Linked DNA regions of Homo sapiens: region 2 is linked to region 1. The links are contacts of gene promoters, found by promoter capture Hi-C in blood cells and fetal thymus (Javierre and others, 2016). All regions are on one chromosome and are shown on one strand. The core of a region is centred on a gene start or on the middle of the fragment in contact, and the rest is flanking DNA. Distances in the headings are between cores, read along the strand shown.

Region 1 (3,527 bases), core at 638-3,137:
CGGTGGCAGAGCGAGGAGTGACTGGCTCCGGCAGTGCACCAGGCACCCCGCCAGGCAGGTACCTGTTCCTGGTTTCAAACTCCGGAGCTCAAGCAATCCTACTGCCTCAGTCTCTCAAAGTGCTGGGATTACAGAGGTGGGCCACGGTACCCAGCCTATCAGAAACATTTAACACTATATATATATATATATATATACATACATACATATATATATACACATACATATATATATATACACACACACACACACACACACACACACACACACACAACAAAGCAATATTACTAGTGGACAGACATAGAAATAGCTTTATTGGCCGGGCGCGGTGGCTCACGCCTGTAATCCCAGCACTTTGGGAGGTCGAGGCTGGTGGATCACCTGAGGTCAGGACCTCAGAGATCGGCCTGACCAACATGGTGAAACCCCGTCTCTACTGAAAATACAAAAATTAACCAGGTGTGGTGGGGGGTGCCTGTAATGCCAGCTACTCGGAAGGCTGAGGCAGGATAACTGCTTGTACCAAGGAGGCCGAGGTTGCAGTGAGCGGAGATCGCGCCATTGCATTCCAGCCTGGGGGACGAGGGCGAAACTCCATCTCAAAAAAATTAAAATAAAAATAAAGAGAGAAAATAATAAACCCAGCAAACATTTATGGCAAACTTCCTACGTGTCAGGCACTGTGCTAAATGCTTCATGAGCAGCTCACAAGTATTATCATCTCTGTTTTACGGATCAGGAAATTCAGGTGTGCAGGGAGGTTAAATGCCCAAAGTCACACAGATAAGTGGTAGGGGACTAATTAAATCTGTTCCAAAGCCTGCGCTCTAAAAACCAGAGTAAACTTCCTCCATTTCTGGGGCCACAACTATAAACACTGCATTCCAGCCAAAACACCTCTAAGAAATCTGATTAAAAAGTAGGGGACAGATTTGACCAGTTCAGCACTGTAACTAAAGGCTGAATTCACAGGCTTTTGGCAGGTGATCAAATTTGGTTTCTTCCTTAACTCTCAGGGACAAGAAACAGTCCTGGGTGTCTTCAGGAAGGTATGAGTGTCAATGAAGAATTGTCTTAACGTCGCATATACGTATTGGAACATGCTTCTACTTGAACAGATATTACAATAAGAAAAGGGCAAATTCCAACGGCTCTTTCTCCGGGAAAGTCAAGTTAAAGTATGTTAGGATACAGGAGAAGGCTGGGCAGAGAGGTTAGTTCCCTATTTCCTGAGAACTATGAACAATTTTACCTACCCACTGCCCCTCCCTCGAGCTCTCTTCCTTATCCCCAACCCCCATCTCCGGCGCCCAAATCCCCTGCAGGCACCCAAAAAACATTTCTGGAAAACAAAAAGACAATGAGCTCTTCGTTTAGGCCGATTCTGGGAGTCATCTGGATCTTGTGTCCTTACGAGGACTTGACCCGCTGCCTGTCAGCCCAAAGTGCGCGGCGGCTGGGGACAGCGGGGAGCCCAGGACCGGGGTCGGCCGCCACTCTGCCTGAACAGGACAAACCGGCACCCAGCCCTAGGTTCCCCACCTGGAAGTCCTAGGGGGTGGGGAGGAAGGGGAAAGCAGGAGCCCGCCTCTCTCGCCCGGCAACTCCGCTTCAGCGTCTCCCCGCCAGGCCCAAGCCTATTCTGCTCTCGGGCTGCGGCGCCTCATTGCGGGAGTCGAGGACGCGGGTTAAAAAGGGGGCCCGTGGAGGGTGAGGTGAGCCCAGGATGGCCGCTCCGACGAAGGCCCGGGCCTGGGGAGATGGAATCGGTGGCAGAGCCAGGAGGGACTGGCCCCGGCAGCGTACCAGGCACCCCGCCAGGCAGGTACCTGTTCCTGGAGTTAGCAAGCAGCCCCGACCGTCTTGGCTCCGCCTCCTCAGTTTTACTGCCGCGCCGCCGCCAGACCGGTTGCTGGGAGGGGAGTACGCAACGTGCCATGCGCAGTGGGGCGACCGGGAGGACTGATAGAGCGCTCCGCCCCACCCCGCCCTGCGGGGAAGTCCCGCCCTTTCCGAGTGGCCGCGGCTGCGGCAGGCCCTAGCAGCCGCCGCCGCGCCGAGAGCGGTTCTCAGTTCCCGTTGTCTTTCCCGCCGCGCAGCGCTTCCGCCTACAGCCTCCGCCCCCGCAGCAGGAGGGGGAAGCAGGTGGCTTCAACAATGAAGGACCAGAGAAAGGCAAACTTGGCTGTTCCTGAGAATTGTGTTTTTCTCATTTCATGTGGTAGGACTTCTAATGGAAAACCCGCCTCGCACTTTTCTTGGACGACATCTCAAATGCCCCTCACTTTGGCCTCTCGGGCACCAGACAACAAGCTGCAAAGGGGAAGCCCATCCTTTCTTTGCTCCCCACTATTTGTAAAACAAGGAAAATAGCTCAACTAATGAAAACGATCTTGTCCCCTCAGTATCTTTTTTTTTCCCCCGAAGCCTTCCTCATCCACAGCTGAAGCCGTTTGTGGAAACCTATCAGGTTTGTCCAAGCCAGGTTATGCAGAGCTTGAGAAATGAGGAAGCGATGAACTAAGCCTCACTCCTGTGAGACTAGGTTTTTCAGTGACTTATCCCCCGCGTGCGCAGGAGGGGGTATCCAAAACGCGGATATATACCATCAGGTAATGAACACTCGCTCTTGCCAGCTCTGAGCTTTGACACAGATTTAGACCGTCCTAACTTCCAAGACTGGGGGAGGAGTTTAGCTACATCCAAGTAGGGACTTATAGAAATATGCCCCTGGAAGGCCGGGCGCGGTGGCTCACGCCTGTAATCCCAGCACTTTGGGAGGCCGACGCGGGTGGTTCACTAGGTCAGGAGATCGAGACCATCCTGGTTAATACGGCGAAACCCCGTCTCTACTAAAAGTACAAAAAAATTAGCCGGGCGTGGTGACAGGCGCCCGTAATCCCAGCTACTATGGAGGCTGAGGCAGCAGAATGGCCTGAACCCGGGAGGCGGAGCTTGCAGTGTGCAGAGATCGCGTCACTGCACTTCCAGCCTGGGCGACAGAGCGAGACTCCGTCTCAAAAAAAAAAAAAAAAAAAAAGAAAAAAAGAAATATGCCCCTGAAACTGTGGGACCTGTATGCACATGAGTTCTCATTTGATCTTACATACATCACTTTGATTTTTTTTTTTTTTTTTTTTGAGATGGAGTCTTGCTCTGTTGCCCAGGCTGGAATGCAGTGACGTGATCTGGGCTCACTGCAACCTCTGCCTCCTGGGCTCAAGCAATTCTCCTGACTCAGCCTCCCAAGTCGCTGGGACTACAGGCGCACGCCACAACGCCTGGCTGATTTTTGTATTTTTAGTAGAGACGAGGTTTCACCATATTGGTCAGGCTGGTCTTAAAATCCTGACCTCAGGTGATCCACCAGCCTCGGCCTCCCAAAGTGCTGGGATTACAGGTGTGAGCCATCTGTGCTGGGCCACATCATTTTGATTTTATCGAGTGCTTTGACATTGCTAAGGGCTACCCTCACATGCTCTCATTCTCAAAATAAGATGCCACTCTCAGGAGCAAACTTGGTAAAC
Region 2 (3,527 bases), core at 476-2,975, 770 kb after region 1:
TTGCTGTTATCCTGTTCTTTTTTTCAAGGTGCCCAGATTTCATATTGTTCAAACACACATGCTCTACAATTTTGTGCAGTTAACGCAATTATCACGTGGTCCTGAGGCTACATACATCCTCCTCGGTTTACAAGATGACAGGATTAAGAGATTAAAGTGAAGACAGGCCTAGGAAATCACAAGGGTATTGATTGGGGAAGTGATAAGTGTCCATGAAATCTTTACAATTCATGTTCAGAGATTGCAGTAAAGACAGGCATAAGAAGTTATAAAAGTATTAATTTGGGGAACTAATAAATGTCCATGAAATCTTCACAATCCACGTTCTTCTGCCATGGCTTCAGCCGGTCCCTCTGTTTGGGGTCCCTGACTTCTCGCAACACCTGGCCGTATTGTTTTATTTTAAAGCATACTAATGCTACTTGTTTGTGATAGCTAAAAATTAGAAACACCTAAATGTCCATTAGTAGGGATTGGTTAGATAAATCATGATAGCTGCATACAGTGGACTGCTCTGTGGCTGTAAAAGATGACTGAATATGCTCTTTGTGCACAATGTTCCGTGTTGGGAACAATCTCTAGCATATGTGATGCGAGAAAAATGTAGTACAATTATAATGGTAATGTGCAGAGTAGTATGCTAGTGTTTGTAAAAACAAAGGTGTGCAGAAGTATTTGCAGTTGTTTGCAATCGGAAGAACTCTCTAGAAGCATATACAAGAAACTCGTAATACTGATTGCTTCCAACAAAGGGAACCTCAGGGTTGCAGGACAAAGGGACAAGAACTTTCAGTGTATACTTTTTGCACTTGCTGAATTTTGAACCATGTTATCTATTCAGAAGTTTTTTTCTGTAATTAAATCTCCAAAATAAAGTATACTATACTGTATTCTAAAACTAAGCATACCAAATATATTTATAAATCACTGTATTATGTGTATTTCATTTATGTTTAGAAATGAATGATTATTCCAGTAAGTTATTTCAAGCTTATGAATAGAGGGAATATTGACAATGTGAAACTATAATCACAAAAAGAGGATTTATACTGTTGATTTATTCTTTGATAGTTGTAAAAGGAGATAAATGTTAATCAGGATAAGTCCTGATTTACATCTCTTAATTTGATACTGACAAGAACAAATTTTTGCGAAGAGAATAAAATACTCTTCTGTCTTAAGTTTTTTAATGCAGTTCTAGGTGAGTGAATGGGTAAATCAGTTCGGAGATAATTTGAGGGCTACTCCCATAGTTTCCCTCTTTTTTTTGCAATTTGTAATTGCTTTATCACCCAAGTAGGACAAGTTCTGGTATTTGTGCTTGTTAAACATACTATAGCAGGGTTATAAACATACATGTTTGTAAAACTCTTTAATGCAGAGCTGTCTTTGACAGATTACACCCACCCTATGAAAAATTGTAAAACAGTTTCTCCTGCAGCATGAAGCACTGCATTCTGGCTGGCAGTCTTAGTTGCTAGGTTGTCAGTATACTCCCCATCCTAGAAACTGAAAAGTTTTGAGGATGCTCTTGGGATATACTTAGGTATTTTTAAGCCGGAAAAACACGTCCAAAACCAAGATTTCTGGTTCATTGTTTTAAACGAAAAAACTCAAACGTTGTCGTTACTAGTAGTAGTATAAAACGTCAAATTTCTGGTTTAGGTTTGTTTTGCATCATGGCTGAGGTTACGAATGGCTAGATTCTCCCAAATGTCAAATTTCTACACTGCTTTTCCCATATTGGTGTGAACTCATGAGAATGCCAGGCATGATCTCCCAAAGGACAATCAGAGTGTCACAAGGGTTAAGTACTATCTATACCTGAGGTTGATTTGGAGTCCATTTCAGGTGACATTAAATATGTCAAGTTTCCATGCTTTTTGCCAACCCATTTCTATTCAACATTTCAACCTAATCATTTATATTAAAAATCTGTTACGGAGTAGGTACTGTGCTAGGGACTGTGCTATGATCTATGAGTGTAAGTTATGAATATGAAGTGGATATGGTAAGAGATGTAGCTGGAGACGCTGAAGATGGAGTGAGATTTAAAAAGGTTTTATATGCAGGGCTTATATTTCAGAAAGGGAGCCAGGGAAAGGATTTTAATCAGAAAAATGGTATGATCTATACAAAATGAGGAGTTAACAAATATGGGGGGTTATGGTGGAGAATTCAGGAATTTCTGATGAAAGTATCCCAACAAGTTTATTGTTTTTTTTTGTTGTTTTGATGTTACTCTGCTGCTATAATCTTCTGAACAAACCACCATTTAGAATAGGATACCACAATCTGAAAGTGTTCTCTCCTGCCACTTTTTCCCACCAATCTGGTAAAGTTCTGTTTAGCTGCAATATATTTTGGTATAAATCTTACTAGACATGTTTTCTTAAGTCCAATTATTTTGCTTCTCCAAAAAAGGAAGGAATATGCCAGTGAATTATTAGACGCCATATTTAAAGCTTCCCCCTTTTTTTCTTCAAATATAATCAGGCAGCAGGAAATTGTTGTTCTTAATATTTATAATTGTTTCACCTGTATTCTTTTTTTTATTTAATCTCCAAGGAGCTGTAAGTTGGTATGTATCGCCTGTATTCTTAAATAGCATTTTCACAATGTTATATCCAAGTTTCAAGATTATGAAGCTTTCAGATTTCATGGTTAAATTTTTTAATAGCTCTATATTCTGTCTCCAGGAGAAAATATAGTGAAAGGAGATAAAGAATCTATTAAGAATCTCCTGGAAATATTTGATGGTTTGTTGGAGTATCTTACAGAACGCATCAGTGAAACATCTCATGAGAAAAGTAAGTTTAAGAATGGAAATTTGGTTTGGTTTACCTTTTATGATGTGTCCCTTTTGCCTTTTATCTTTTTGTGTATTTTTCTTCATAGGAAGCAGATTCACTAATACAGTATACCTGATAACCGTAGTTGTAAATTTCAAATTCTTATTGTTCCAGCTGGTTGGAAACTGTCTTAGACTGTCATCATGTTCTTTATCAACTTGGATGTTGCTCATAAATTACTTCAAAACTAATTTATACTAGAAAGATAAATTTCTGGCTAAATTATTTATTGTCCTATGATTGCATAAAATTTCTTTCTCCAAAATTTCGTGTGTCAGAACTGCTATTTATGGTAAATATTTGGATGTTACTGAGGCATCAACAGGAAGAATTGGTGCATTTGTGTCTTTAGCCTGCACTTACATTTGTGACAGCCTAAATATTTCAGATATTTGTCATTGCAAAAAGTGAAAGAACTTAACTGTCTTAATAATTTGAGATTAAGTAAATAATGCTGTTGGTCACGAATGGAATAATATATTACCTGTTCTTATGTTGAAAAGTTATCAAAAATAAACTTTCAGCAGCAACCACAATTTACATAAATTCGAATACAAATTAAGACAAAAAATTGGGGTAGGCTCATCCTCCATTCTCACTTTGTTTATAGTGAGACCTGTGATAGTCACATTTGAAATTAATCTTAAAGTCTTTAGTTAGAGATAGTTTCCTACC

The links. Contacts are between HindIII fragments. The CHiCAGO score rates a contact against its expected background, and 5 or more counts as called.
Region 2: a fragment that was not itself captured here is called in contact with the fragment with the promoter of STRADA in region 1 in 1 of 17 cell types (monocytes); the score reaches 6.8 in monocytes.

What each region holds. Positions count from the first base shown.
Region 1 is chr17:63,739,912-63,743,438 of GRCh38, forward strand. It overlaps STRADA (STE20 related adaptor alpha), which reads right to left and starts at 1,888. Exons shown (of 13, transcript NM_001003787.4): 1 at 1,830-1,888. RefSeq lists an enhancer at 14-513 and silencers at 379-547, 2,051-2,170. The HindIII fragment of the contact is 6,891 bases long and covers 1-3,527 here.
Region 2 is chr17:64,511,549-64,515,075 of GRCh38, forward strand. CEP95 (centrosomal protein 95) reads left to right here. Exons shown (of 20, transcript NM_138363.3): 4 at 2,700-2,810. Among named protein-coding and RNA genes, the nearest start is that of CEP95, 6.3 kb to the left of the region's middle. The HindIII fragment of the contact is 1,475 bases long and covers 989-2,463 here.